Regions from separate parts of the Homo sapiens genome. Here all the other regions are linked to region 1. Evidence: promoter capture Hi-C in 16 types of primary human blood cells and fetal thymus (Javierre and others, 2016). All regions are on one chromosome and are shown on one strand. The core of a region is centred on a gene start or on the middle of the fragment in contact, and the rest is flanking DNA. Distances in the headings are between cores, read along the strand shown. Region 1 holds the start of NSD3 (nuclear receptor binding SET domain protein 3). Region 2 overlaps DDHD2 (DDHD domain containing 2). Region 3 overlaps BAG4 (BAG cochaperone 4). Region 4 overlaps BAG4 (BAG cochaperone 4). Region 5 holds the start of STAR (steroidogenic acute regulatory protein).

Region 1 (2,872 bases), core at 231-2,730:
GATTCATACTGATGTCGGAGAGGAAAAGGAATTTATTTACACTGCAGTGCCTTGGCAGCAAACATGGCTGCCCCTGCCCCCTTTAAATCGAAATAATCTTCACTCCCTCCCCAAAACCATCAAATTATGGCCATGTCTCTCCCTGCCTCCCTTCCATAACACAAACACATCGCCTTCTCCCTCAAAACAGTAAAACCCACACCTCCCCATTTCACAACAATCACAATCCCATAACCACCAGCTTCTCTATTCTCTAGCCTTGAAAGAAAGACACAGAATACACACAAATACAGGAACAAAAGGCCTCCCTTCCTAACACTTTAACGACCTCCATCCCCTTCTCTTCCTCCCACTCTGACGCTAAGTCGATCGTTCTCATCCCTGTCATCATTCAGTTAATTTCCTTCCCTAGCCCAATCCTGTCTTCCAGTTTCCTGCGTCTATTTCCCATTCTCCTATTGCAGCCTGCCTCATCCCCTTTCCTAATCCACCTTTTCCTTCACTTCCATTCCTCATTTCTCCCTTCATTCCCATAAAATGCCCCATTTCTCCAGCAAATTTATCCCCTTCTCCCAGACTCTTCTGGTTCCTACACTCCATCCCCAAATCTCCCTATTTATCAGTCCACCCAGGTCTGTAATCTCCATGCAACTCTTCTCCCCTTTCCCTGCCCCTCCCCGATCCATCCTTATCCCCGCCCCCATCCCACTTTCCCAATTCCCAGCTCAGCGCCACTCCGACTCCCATCCCACTCCCCACCTCCCCTGGCCCACCCCCCAATTCCCTCCACACCCCCCACCTTGCCATCTGCTCCTCCGTCAGGACTCCCCTCGAGCCCTTTCAGGCCACCCGCTTCCCCTTCCATTCCTCCTGGGGTCTGGCGCTCCATCCCTAGGTCGCCCCCTCCCCGTCGTTCCCTCCTCAGCCCTTCCTAGCACTACACACGCGCGCGCGCGCACACACACACACACACACACACACACATACACACACGCACACGCACTTTACCTTCAGTTTGTTCCATTCTAACCCCCCGGCCGTGTCAGTGCGATCACAGGAGAGACACGGAGGCCCGGAGTGGGGCTGGGGTGCGGGCAGCCGCTGGGGCCGCGCGAGGAGGAGGCGGAACCGAGCTAGGCCGCATGAAATCCCCGGGCTAGATTTTCCCCGCGCCGGACGCCTCTGCCATGGCGGCCGGCACTGAGGAGGGCCACGGCCGGGCCGGGCCGGGCGTGCTGCGGGAAGAGGAAGGCTCGGGAGGTGGGATGGGAAGGGGAGGCCGAGGGACGGGGGTCGCCGCGCCGCCGCTGCTGCCAGAGAGGAGCCTGCGGCTGGCAGCCCGGCCTGGGTAGCACGGTCCTCGGCGCTCGGCTCGGAATTCGCACGCCTCTCCGCGGCGACCTGTGCACAGCCCCCTCGGCCTCCGCCTCCGTGCTGGCCGCCGCCGCCGCCTCTCCCGCCGCCGCCGCGCACAAAGCCCCCCCACCCCGACTCTCGGGGCGCCGCCGCCGCCAAATCCTCAGCCCCTCATTGGCCGCGGGCCGCGGCGCCTGCCGGGAAATGCAGTCCCTGGTTCGGGACGCTGGGGCTCCGGAGGAAGCGGCGAGTCGGCGGGGCGGAGGGGGCGGGAGCGCGAACCAGGAACGCCCGCGGCAGCTAGCGTCTGGACGACTAGGGAGACCGGGCGAGAGGGCCGAGGAACGAGGGACGGGGAGGGACTGTACGTGGGAGAGTGACACACAAAACACCCCGGGAAGCCGGAGGAGGCGTGGAAAGGTGGGGCCCGGGAGGTAAAACTGGGATCGGCGCGTTCAGTGAGGCTGATTAAAGAACAACGCGCAACCAGCGCCATACGGCGCTCCTCAGGGTGACTCGGCTCTCTAGCTCTTAAGGGTTAGAAGCGACCCTCGCACGGTCCCCGGTGGGTCACCGCGCGAGGGCGGGGCAGTCCAGGCGACCCCTCGGCCGTCTCCCGTCCTACGGCTGTCAGGGAAGGGCTCCGGTTCCGGTAGGGTCTGCATTTGGAAAGCCGGGGGCGATGCAAGACCGCCTTGGCGTCGTCTCCCTCTCAGCCCCGGCTGAGCTGTCGGATGGTCCCCCTCCCCCGGTTGCAAGCAGTAGGAGACCCGGCCGGCGGCGCCGGCTCGCCGAGGGAGCGCCTCGACCTCCCCGGCAGGCGCCGGCCCCGCGCGCCTCTTCCTGCTCTGCTGCGGCCCGGAGGCTTGTGGGTAACCGGGAGGACGACGTCAGCGCCCGCCGCATCCCCGGGTGCCCCCCAGCCGCGGGGGACCGCGACGGCTCCGTGACCGTCACGTGCCGGAGGCCGCGGCTGCTCGCGGCCAGACCTTCGCATCGAGGGACGTGAGGGACATTTGTCCTAGAGGGCCCAAGATAAGAACGAGAGGAAGAACCGGGAGGCAACTCTCCGTCATCCTCTAGCCCCCCGCATCCTAGGAAACGTATGGAAAACAATGGAAGGTTAAGTGTGTGCACAGTGATCTGGCCCTGCAGGAGTGTGCCGACCAGGTGATATTTCCTGGGGCCTGGTGATAAGGATTTGGAAGGTTACAGCACAGAGACGTGAACGTAAAAAGGAAACAGAGGCAGCAAGCAAATGAGGAAACCGATACTCTGTTCTGAGAATAAAGCCATTTTACCGCTAGACGTCATACTCTGTAGACGTTATAGTGCTGGATGTCTTTGGTACTATTACAAGAAATTAGATATCTCTATCTTTAAATATCACTTAAGGAAATTAAATGATTTCTACAGATCAGTTATTTAAAAGGGCACTAATTATGAACTATTTTTTTTAAACGTAACCCGGTTAATACTAGATACTGAGAATTATCAGTATTGGCTGGGCGCAGTG
Region 2 (2,758 bases), core at 186-2,685, 140 kb before region 1:
ATCACTGACATATTATGTGAGCATGTCTTCCATGTAGAAAGGGACTATTGACAGATCTGTTAGCCTAATATATTTTCACGGTTCTCATTTCAAGCCATACGAGTTGTATATCAAAACTCCAGTTCAGATTTTACTGTGTGGTTTGAAAGACATGATTCTACACTTAAAACTGCATTGTATAGAGATGATTGTATTGCAGAATATTTTTATTGCTCTGATCTGTTCTGTTTAAGCTTATGGTGCATTACCAGCCAGTTGCAGGGTCTGATGATTGGGGTTCAACACCCACGGAGCAGGGTCGACCAAGAACTGTGAAGAGAGGAGTTGAGAACATCTCTGTTGACATTCATTGTGGTAATGTTAATCGTTTATTTTTTCTTACCTTTGGATGTATTTGTTTACTCCTTAAATTGTGACCTTTTTCTGTGGATTTAGATTACCTCAAGGCTTAAAAATCATCTTTAATCATATGGGTTTATTCCAAGTTGAGATTAGCATCACTTCGTCTACTAAGAATCTTAATAGATGTAAAAATATCTTTTAAAACATATGGTAGGATGGGTAAAATTTGGCAATACTATCCAGGAAGTCACTAAGTACAGATGAACTGATTTAGTCCTAATTCCAAGAAGTGTGATTCCACCTACTTGACTAGAAATTTATACCTGGTAATAACTCCTTGTCCTTGAAGATTTTCAACTAAGGAAAACTGTTTTTCAGCAGGACCTGATTATGCACTGCTATCTAGGTAGGGTCACTTATGGTTTTATAATATATTTAATTGGATTATAATATTCCTTTTTTCTTGTCTCTTGGACAAAATCCTAGCTTTACTGTAATTTAAAAAGATGAGTTTAAAATTTCAGGCTTTAAAAACATACCAAACATTGATAAAAATGAAATACTAGATAAAAGTATTTTATCAATGTTCAGTTGCCTGGATTCAATAACTGTATTATGGTTATGTAAGATAATATACTTAGGAAATACACATTATGGTATTAAAGGGTTAAAGAGGTATGGTGCATGCAACCTGATGATGTATGTAGTCTGCTTTCTAATGATTCAGAAAAATAAATGTGTGTGTGTGTGTGTGTACACACACAGAGAATCATAAAGCAAATGTAATTGTTAAAAAGTTGAATCTCTGTAAAAAGTATGTGGGAGTGTCTGTACTATGCTTTCTAGTTTTCTGTACATTTCTAGTTATTTAGAAATAAAAAGTTTTAAAAACCTGGCTGCACGTGGTAGCTCATGCCTGTAATCCCAGCACTTGGGGAGGCCAAGGTGGAAGGATCACTTGAGCCCAGGAGTTCGAGACCAGCCTGGGCAATATGGCGAAACCCTGTCTGTACAAAAAATACAAAAATTAACTGGGCATGGTAGCACACATCTGTAGTCTCAGCTATTTTGGAGGCTGAGGCAGGAGGATCACTCGAGCCCAGAAGGTTGAGGCTGGAATGAGTGTTTATCATGCCACTGCACTCCAGCCTAGGCGACAGAGTGAGACTCTGTCTCAAAAAAAAAAAAAAAAAAGTTTTTAAAACCTGAAAAAAGGCCAAGTGTGTTGGCTCACGGCTGTAATCCCAGCACTTTGGGAGGCTGAGGCGGGCGGGTCAGGAGGTCGAGACCATTCTGGCTAACACGGTGAAACACCCTGTCTCTACTAAAACTACAAAAAATTAGCCAGGTGTGGTGGCGTGTGCGTGTAGTCCCAACTACTCGGGAGGCTGAGGCAGGAGAATCGCTTAAACCCGGGAGGCAGAGGTTGCAGTGAGCCAAGATCGTGCCACTGCACTCCAGCCTGGGTGACAGAGCAAGACTCTGTCACAAACAAAAAAAAAACCATAATTTAAAAAAAAAAAAAAAAGAGTTTTTTTTTTTGGAGACAGAGTCTTGCTCTGTCACCCAGGCTGGAGTGCAGTGGTGTGATCTCGGCTCACTGCAACCTCTGCCACCTCCAGGGTTCAAGTGATTCTTCTGCCTCAGCCTCGCGAGTAGCTGGGATTACAGGCATGTGCCACCACACCCGGCTAATTTTGTATTTTTAGTAGAGATGAAGTTTCACCGTGTTGGTCAGGCTGGTCTCGAACTCCTGACCTCATGATCTACCTGCCTTGGCCTCCCAAAGTGCTGGGATTACAGCCGTGAGCCACCGCGCCCAGCCGAGTTTTCTTTTTCAGAGATCAGAAAAAAAAGAAAAAAGTCCTGAAAAAAATTTTACAGACTTATTTCAAGATAAATTAGAAACCAAGTAAAATCAGTGTATTTTTGCTAGGTACTTAAAGGACTATTTTGTATCTTTTAAATTATCTGTTCATCTTTTAACTTGCTCATATTTATAACCTTTTCATGATGAATGATATTAGAATACATGACTAATTATACAGAATAATTTTCTTTTTAATTTCATTTATAGGAGAACCTTTACAAATAGATCACTTGGTTTTTGTAGTCCATGGGATTGGACCAGCTTGTGATCTCCGCTTTCGAAGCATTGTACAGTGTGGTAGGTTTGCAAAGCATGTGAGAGAATATTAATCAGTGCTCTTGTGAGCTGAGATAAAGCCTTGTCTTTGGTCTATTGTCTTAGCTGCATAAGAAGATTTGGAGAGTTAAAGACAGGTGGCAAGGTAGTAAAGCTTCTCAGCTTAGACCTGAAGTGCTAGGAAATTCCTGAGTCTAATAGTTTATACTCTTAACTATTGTAATAGTCTCAAATGAACAAGCAGTTAATCCCTATAAAATTGTGTTTTAT
Region 3 (2,722 bases), core at 175-2,674, 170 kb before region 1:
GTCAGACTGAAGCACCCCCTCTTAGGGGGCAGGTTCCAGGATATCCGCCTTCACAGGTGAGTTGTTTTCTATTGGGAAAAAAATGAATTCAAAGTCTCTGCCTCTTGTAAACAGTGGAAGAGCATCTGTTCATACTAGTGCTGATTTAATAAGACACTTCTAGATTGGGAAGGCTTTTATATTGATGCCTTTCTTATTTGTGGCAGCTATTGCAGTAAATGGACTTTGGCTGAAGGTCATAATCATAAATTTTTATACTGAAAGTAATCTTTAGAGAGTTGCTGCTTGAAAGTTTCCCTATCTTAGCCTTTTTTTTTTTTTTGTGGCGTGATCTTGGCTCACTGCAACCTCTACCTCCTGGGTTCAAGCAATTCTTCTGCCTCAGCCTCCCAAGTAGCTGGGATTACAAGCACGCGCCATCACGCCCAGCTCATTTTTGTATTTTTAGTAGAGATGGGGTTTCACCATGTTGGCCAGGATGGTCTTGATCTCCTGACCTCGTGATCTGCCCCCCTCGGCCTCCCAAAGTGCTGGGATTACAGGCATGAGCCACCGTGCCAGGCAAATCTTAGCCTTTTTTAGCACCCTGTTAGGTTCTTTTTTTTTTTTTTTTTTTTGAGACGGAGTCTCGCTCTGTCGCCCAGGCTGGAGTGCAGTGGCACGGTCTAGGCTCACTGCAAGCTCCACCTCCTGGGTTCATGCCATTCTCCGGCCTCAGCCTCCCGAGTAGCTGGGACTACAAGCGCCCGCCACCGCGCCCAGCTAATTTTTTTTGTATTTTTAGTAGAGATGGGGTTTCACCTTGTTAGCCAGGATGGTCTCGATCTCCTGACCTCGTGATCCGCCCATCTCAGCCTCCCAAAGTGCTGGGATTACAGGCGTGAGCCACCGCGCCTGGCCAGGTTCATGTTTTTTTAATATTCTGTGAATAACTATGTTTATTTCTCTGTTCACTTCAAGAGGAGTTCTAACATGTCTTTATTTGTGCTTCCTTATAGCATATGGGTCCGTTTGTTTATAGTATCTATGGGACAGACTTGGGTTTCATCCATTGAATTTTTAGGCCTTATTCCTTCTGAGTTTTATTGTCATTAAATCTACCCCTGGTATCTTTGGAACCAACTTTTTGAGGCTTGGAGAAATTACTGCAGCTGATTAATTAGATTTACTACAGTTTAGTCCGGTAGCAGCTAATGTATACTCTGTTAAGAAGAGAGGAAGCATCTCAGAATCTGCCTGTAGCAGAATATTTTTATTATAAGTTTTTCACAATGACTGGTATATTTCTTCTTCTCAATCTAGAACCCTGGAATGACCCTGCCCCATTATCCTTATGGAGATGGTAATCGTAGTGTTCCACAATCAGGACCGACTGTACGACCACAAGAAGATGCGTGGGCTTCTCCTGGTGCTTATGGAATGGGTGGCCGTTATCCCTGGCCTTCATCAGCGCCCTCAGCACCACCCGGCAATCTCTACATGACTGAAAGTACTTCACCATGGCCTAGCAGTGGCTCTCCCCAGTCACCCCCTTCACCCCCAGTCCAGCAGCCCAAGGTAGGAGACCTAAATGTTGTTCCTTTAATGTGTGTGTAATTAGGAGAACATAACATGGTTTATATAGTTTCTGTACTGGTTTGTGTTAAATGGGGACTAATTACAAAAAGTTGGTGACTACTTATCTATAGCTTTACCTCAGCTCGGTTTCCTTTTTCTTTTTTTTAATAGACTTTATATTTAGAGAAGATTTAGATTCACATCGTTTTTGTTAAAAGACAGAAAGATACACATTTTCTGTTTGTTGTAATTCTTCTAAACGTTAAATGCAAAGATGCATTTTACTACTTCAAATAATCTATGAACAGAAGACAAAACCAATGTGAAATATCTGTAGCATGAGCTTGTATTTAAACCACAGACTTGAACATTATCACTTGTGGCTGTGTTCCTTTTCAAGACCTTGCTTGAGGTTTTTAACCTTTTAGGGGAAAAACTAATTCTTATTAATTAGGTCACAGGATGGACTATGAGGTGCTCATGGTGATGGACCTGCCACAGGGCAGGTTCCAGCCATTATAACTCAAAAATTCTGTGCCTTTTGTCTGACAGGGCACTCCCTTTTATCTTCTTAGGACTGTGTTTTTTTGCAAATGATTAAGGAGAGGGGTCCAATTTTATTGTTAGGGAATCTTTTCATGTACCTTTCTGGTCAAGTGAAAGATGTGGGCTAACAAATTTGATGTTGATGCATTCCCATTAAAACAGCTCTTTTCCTCTTTTTGCTCTCCCACTCCAAGGATTCTTCATACCCCTATAGCCAATCAGATCAAAGCATGAACCGGCACAACTTTCCTTGCAGTGTCCATCAGTACGAATCCTCGGGGACAGTGAACAATGATGATTCAGATCTTTTGGATTCCCAAGTCCAGTATAGTGCTGAGCCTCAGCTGTATGGTAATGCCACCAGTGACCATCCCAACAATCAAGATCAAAGTAGCAGTCTTCCTGAAGAATGTGTACCTTCAGATGAAAGTACTCCTCCGAGTATTAAAAAAATCATACATGTGCTGGAGAAGGTCCAGTATCTTGAACAAGAAGTAGAAGAATTTGTAGGAAAAAAGACAGACAAAGCATACTGGCTTCTGGAAGAAATGCTAACCAAGGAACTTTTGGAACTGGATTCAGTTGAAACTGGGGGCCAGGACTCTGTACGGCAGGCCAG
Region 4 (2,792 bases), core at 286-2,785, 190 kb before region 1:
ATAACACTACTGTATGTATTTATTCTATTCTACAATACACACAATATAGTTTAAAAATTAAGATAGTAATATCACTACTAATAACATTATATGAAGAGTTTAAGATATTTTTAAATTTCTTTTGCTTTTAGAAAGGTACCACTAAAGATGTCCATTCAGAAAACTGTTCAAGAATTATTTGAATTATATTCTGTGTGTGGTTATCAAGTCAGTAGGTTTTTTCTTTTTAAAGATGGGGTCTTACTCTGTTGCCCAGGCTGGAGTGCAGTAGCACAATCATAGATCATAGCTCACCATAACCTTGAATTTCTGGACTTTGCCTCTGCCTCTCACCTCTCAGCCTCCTGAGTAGCTGGGACTATAGGCACCCATCATCACGCCCACCTGACATTTTTTTTTTTTTTTTTGGGTAAAGACTGAGTCTCATTATTTTCCAGGCTGGTCTTGAACTCCTGGTCTCTGGCCCCAAGCAATCCTCTTGCCTCAGCTACCCAAAGTGCTGGGATTACAGATTGAGCCACTGCGCCCAGCCCAAGTTGGTGGGTTGTCTTTTTTTTTTTTTTTGAGACGGAGTCTCTGCTCTGTGGCCCAGGCTGGAGTGCAGTGGCATGATCTCTGCTCACTGCAACTTCTGTCTCCTGGGTTCAAGCTATTCTCGTGCCTCAGCTTCCTGAGTAGCTGAGATTACAGGCACCCACCACCACACCCAGCTAATTTTTGTATTTTTAGTAGAGACGGGGTTTCACCGTGTTGGCCAGGCTGGTCTCGAACTCCTGACCTCAGGTGATCCACCCGCGTCAGGCCTCCCAAAGTGGTGGGATTACAGGCGTGAGCCACTGTGCCTGGCCAAGTTGGTGGTTTTTTAAAGAAGATAAAATACAGTTTGAATTCATACTGATATTTACAATTCAAATTAAGGATTATAAGGTTTTAAGTTTCATTATTCTTATATCTGTGTCTCCTATCTCCCATTGTGAAAATACTGATTCCCAACAATACCAATGTAAGTATTCATTTGCAACTATAATACCCGCATAACAGTACCAAGATAACAAACAGTACCAACAGTGTTGATAATTATGATTACTGAAAAAAATTCAAAGTATTACTGAAAACAAAGTATTATGAAATGGATAAGTAGTGCAGTTAAGCTAATAGTGATAATCTCTCAGTTATTTCAGCTGCCAATGAATTTCTTTGTGAAATCATATTCAAAGTTTTAGAAAAAATGTCGAAGGTCCTGTTCAAGCTTAAAACTATACTTGGGCGGGCACAGTGTGGCTCACGCCTGTAATTCCAGCACTTTGGGAAGCCAAGCCGGGTGGATCTCCTGAGGTCAGGAGTTCAAGACCAGCCTGGCCAAAATAGTGAAACCCGGTCTCTACTAAAAGTACAAAAAATTAGCTGGGCGTGGTGGCAGGTGCCTGTAATCCCAGCTATTCAGGAGGCTGAGGCAGGAAAATTGCTTGAACTTGGGAAGCGGAGGTTGCAGTGAGCCGAGATCGTGCCATTGCACTCCAGCCTGGGCAACAAGAGCGAAACTCTGTCTCAAAAAAAAAAAAAAAAAAAAAACCCTAAATCTATACAGTTGAAAGCAAAATAACTCATAGGATAATAAATGTATGTAATAAACCAGATAATAGGTGCTCTGAGAAGTTTTGAGTATATTTAGTCTTTTATCAAAGTTTATTGGCTTATTGCAAATCATGCGTTAACTTTCTGAGTTGGAGAGAAAGGCTGATGAAATTATTGTCGTAGCTAGATTTTCTCTTTGGATTGGTAAATGTTCTGCATCAATGCCTGACACTGAGGCTGCCAGCGGAAAGCTTAGCCATAGCACAGAGTAGAATATGAAAAACTAGGGTGTGTCAAGGCAAAGAAGTTGGAGATTGAAGATGTATGTGCTTGAGCGAAACTCTAGTAGTAATGTCTTTGTGTTCCAAAGTTATTGGTAAATATAACAGTAGCAAAGAACCATTTTGTTGCACTAATTAAATTAGTAGTCTTGAGGATTAGTTATTGGAGAAGGATAGAGGTGATCTAATGTCTCTGATTTTGCTAATCATCTTGATGTAGTAGAATTCCTTTATATAGCATTTGGTGTGGTGGCATTGTCGAAACAGATAAGAACAGCTTTTTACTAGGTAATAATTGTTTTGTCATAGAGCATTTGATTTACCATGTACTGAATAATTAGCAGTTTTATAGTTGGGGTCCTATTCCCTTTTTTCTTTTATTTTTTGTTTTTAAGAGACGGGGTCTCTCTTGACCATACTAGACTCAATCACCTGAGCTCAAGCGATCCACCCACCTCAGCCTCCGCAGTAGTGGGACAAGAAGCGTGTGCCACTGTGCCCAGCTTATTGCTTTTTGTCTATTGCTTTTTTTTTTAATCCTTATAACCTGCCTCTATCAATCTATCTTAAAATGATGTATGAATGTTATTAAGAGTGAATTTATTTTTCTTTTTTTCTTAGGAGCAGCCACCATATCCTAGCTACAATTCTAACTATTGGAATTCTACTGCGAGATCTAGGGCTCCTTACCCAAGTACATATCCTGTAAGACCAGAATTGCAAGGCCAGGTATGGTTTAAAAACAGAGACTTTCTGAACTTTTTCTTAATGAATAGATTTATTTTCAAAACCTGTGCAGATTTTAGAGCAGTGATGAGTGTGTGTTTTTTTTCTTTGCTTTAATGGGCTCCATCAATCTCATCTTAATGTTTTTAGCTCAGAGATAAGGAAATATCTAGGCAAATATACCTATAGCTTGAGGCATAATAAATTATT
Region 5 (2,748 bases), core at 79-2,578, 230 kb before region 1:
GTGTACCCCTGCTACAAGACTTGTCCAGCTCTGAAGGAAGGCAAAGTCAGGAATAGTTCAAGAAAGATGGCCAGGCATGGTGGTGCACGCCTGTGGTCCCAGCCACTCAGGAGGCTGAGGCAGGAGAATTGCTTGAACCCAGGACGCAGAGGCTGCAGTGAGCCAAGATAGCGCCAGTGCACTCCAGCCTAGGCAACAGAGCGAGACTGCCTCAAAAATAAAATAGGCTGAGCGCCATGGCTCATGCCTATAATCCCAGCAGTTTGGGAGGCAGATCACCTGAGGTCAGGAGTTCAAGACCAGTCTGGTCGACGTGGCGAAACCCTGTCTCTACTAAAAATACAAAAACTAGCCAGGCGTGGTGGCATGCACCTGTAATCCCAGCTACCCAGGAGGCGGAGGTTGCAGTGAGCCGAGATCGTGCCACTGCGCTCCAGGCTGGGCAACAGAGTGAGACTCCATCTCAAAATAAAGTAAGCCAGGTGTGGCGGCTCACACCTGTAATCCCAGCACTTTGGGAGGCCAAGGTGGGAGAATCCCTTGAGCCCAGGGGGTCAAGACCAGCGTGACCAATATAGCAAGACATTGTCTCTAAAAAAAATAAAAATAAAAATAAATAAATAAAACTAGCTGGTTGTGGTGGTGCACGCCTGTAGTCCCAGGTACTCAAGAGGCTGAGGTGGGAGGATGGCTTGAGCCCATGAGTTTGAGGCTGCAGTGAGCTATGATTGTTCTACTGTACTCCAGCCTCTGTGACAGAGACCTTTATTCAAACAAAAAAAAAAGAAAAGGCGGAAGAAAAAAAGAACGAATGAAGGAAAAGGGGAAGGAAGAAAGGAAGAAAGAAAGGAAAGGAAGGAGGGAAGGAAGAAAGAAAAAGAATAAAAATGAAAGAAAAGGAGAAAAAAAGATTGGAGTCCTGGAGGGGAGACCAGAAATTATAGAATCTGGAAGGGATATATCTTAGTAACCAGCCCACTTCTTCCGAGGGGAAAACTGAGATTCAAGAAGGGAAGAAACTTGCCCAGGTTCACCCAGTAAGAGGCACAACTAGGATCAGAATTGGGTGGCCTGAGCCTCATCCGCTGAGAGCTGGCCAACCCCTCATCGCCTCCTTCCCGCAGCGCTCACCCTTCATGTTGCGCATGTGTCTGTAGGAGCTCCCAGCGCACAGCTTGAATGTCGCTAGCAGCATTGTTTCCTGGCAAATGTGGCAGTGGTGGGGTCGCTGCCGCTGCTGCTGCCGCCGCTGCTGCTGCCTCTTCTCTCAAGGGTGGTTCTTCGTCCTTCCTGAGCCCCTCAAGCTTCGCCTCTGAGTCCCGCAGCTGCAGCCTGGACCTGGTGTTCTGCGTCTTAAATGTCCCCCGCTGAAGGCTGTGCATCATCATCAGGAGATAAAAACGCCATCACTCACTGTGCAAAGGAAGGGGTCAAGGATAGAGCGATTGCCTCACACTGCTGCTTTGGCCGTTTGTGGGGAGCTTGGGGCGGGGGAGGGTGCAGGGGAGAGTAGGGAGGACAGGGCCAGGCGAGGGATGGAGGGGAGAGAAGCAGGGGCAGCTTAGATGAAGGCACACAGTGGTTTTCAAGACTTTAAAGTGCAGATTTCTAGCCCTTGTCTTCAGAAACTCCAGGCTCAGCTGATCTGGAATTGAGGCTCAGAAACCTGTGTTAAAAAAAAAAAAAAAAAAAAAAAAAAAAAAAAAAAAGAAGGAAAAGAAAAGAAAAAAGAAAAAAAGAAAAGAAAAAAACTTCCCTTGGCCAGGCGCGGTGGCTTACGCCTGTAACCCCAGCACTTTGGGAGGCCGAGGTGGGCAGATCACTTGAGGTCAGGCGTTCGAGACCAGCATGGCCAACATGGTGAAACCTCATCTCTACTAAAAATACAAAAAATTAGCCGGGTGATGTGGCAGGCACCTGTAGTCCCAGCTACTCGGGAGGCTGAGGCATGAGAATCACTTGAACCCAGGAGGCAGAGGTTGCAGTAAGCCAAGATCGTGCCACTGCACTCCATCCTGGGCGACAGAGTGAGACTCCGTCATAAATAAATAAATTAAATAAATAAATAAATAAATACCCAGTGGTTGCAATGCAGGTGTTGTGTGGACTACACACTACACTTTGAGAACCACCGTCTCGCGAGAGTGAGCCAGGGTGTTTACCAGGCAGTAGAGACCATATGGCTGCTCTTCTTCTGGGTGAGGACCCTGAAGTCCACAGAGTGGAACTGACTTGTTCAAGGTCAAACAGCTGGCCAGTGGCAGGGCCAGGACAACAACCCAAGCCTCTGGCCTTCAAGCCATCTGTACACAGTTCCTCCTGCGGTCCCCAGGACGCTTGGTATATTCAACTGTCAATTTATTTACTCATCTATTTATAGAAACCACCTTTCCCAAAGTCCTGTTCCGAGTGAGGGTTCTTAGGGGTCTGTGCTGGAGCAAGGATGACCTCTCGTGGCTGAGTCGCGGGGGGGCGGGGGGGGGCGGGGCAGCCCTATCAGTATACGGCAGAGAGAAGAGGAGGGCCTGGGCCACGCCCACACCCTTCCTCACACTTTCCCGCCAGTAGCTTTGTCTGAGTGAGCTGGGCTGGGGGTCTTGGTATGTGCAGAAAGCTTGAAAAGACAGGGCATGGGCTGGGCACAGTGGCTCATGCCTGTAATCCCAGCACTTTGGGAGGCTGAGGCGGGCAAATCACAAGGTCAGGAGTTTGAGACCAGCCTGACCAACATGGTGAAACCTCGTCTCT

The links. The method cuts DNA at HindIII sites, captures the fragments that hold promoters and counts their contacts. A CHiCAGO score of 5 or more calls a contact.
Region 2: a fragment that was not itself captured here is called in contact with the fragment with the promoter of NSD3 in region 1 in 17 of 17 cell types (naive CD4 T cells, naive CD8 T cells, activated CD4 T cells and 14 more); the score reaches 34.4 in naive CD4 T cells.
Region 3: a contact is called between a fragment that was not itself captured here and the fragment with the promoter of NSD3 in region 1, in 10 of 17 cell types (naive CD4 T cells, total CD4 T cells, naive CD8 T cells and 7 more). The highest score is 8.6, in naive CD4 T cells.
Region 4: a contact is called between a fragment that was not itself captured here and the fragment with the promoter of NSD3 in region 1, in 15 of 17 cell types (naive CD4 T cells, activated CD4 T cells, naive CD8 T cells and 12 more). The highest score is 24.6, in naive CD4 T cells.
Region 5: a contact is called between the fragment with the promoter of STAR here and the fragment with the promoter of NSD3 in region 1, in 2 of 17 cell types (activated CD4 T cells and naive CD8 T cells). The highest score is 5.8, in activated CD4 T cells.

Annotation. Positions count from the first base shown.
Region 1 is chr8:38,380,791-38,383,662 of GRCh38, forward strand. NSD3 (nuclear receptor binding SET domain protein 3) reads right to left here and starts at 1,481. Exons shown (of 24, transcript NM_023034.2): 1 at 1,009-1,481. It also overlaps a transcript of LETM2 not described here. RefSeq lists enhancers at 4-538, 829-1,619 and silencers at 1,268-1,667, 1,698-1,847, 2,038-2,387. The HindIII fragment of the contact is 5,398 bases long and covers 1-2,872 here.
Region 2 is chr8:38,237,856-38,240,613 of GRCh38, forward strand. DDHD2 (DDHD domain containing 2) reads left to right here. Exons shown (of 18, transcript NM_015214.3): 5 at 234-354; 6 at 2,420-2,509. Among named protein-coding and RNA genes, the nearest start is that of DDHD2, 7.6 kb to the left of the region's middle. The HindIII fragment of the contact is 2,409 bases long and covers 232-2,640 here.
Region 3 is chr8:38,207,711-38,210,432 of GRCh38, forward strand. BAG4 (BAG cochaperone 4) reads left to right here. Exons shown (of 5, transcript NM_004874.4): 3 at 1-56; 4 at 1,303-1,557; 5 at 2,298-2,722. Among named protein-coding and RNA genes, the nearest start is that of DDHD2, 23 kb to the right of the region's middle. The HindIII fragment of the contact is 6,479 bases long and covers 1-2,722 here.
Region 4 is chr8:38,190,211-38,193,002 of GRCh38, forward strand. BAG4 (BAG cochaperone 4) reads left to right here. Exons shown (of 5, transcript NM_004874.4): 2 at 2,478-2,585. Among named protein-coding and RNA genes, the nearest start is that of BAG4, 15 kb to the left of the region's middle. The HindIII fragment of the contact is 577 bases long and covers 1,248-1,824 here.
Region 5 is chr8:38,149,624-38,152,371 of GRCh38, forward strand. It overlaps STAR (steroidogenic acute regulatory protein), which reads right to left and starts at 1,329. Exons shown (of 7, transcript NM_000349.3): 1 at 1,132-1,329. The coding sequence starts at 1,195. RefSeq lists enhancers at 1,168-1,467, 1,816-1,848 and a promoter at 1,302-2,617. The HindIII fragment of the contact is 1,310 bases long and covers 1,303-2,612 here.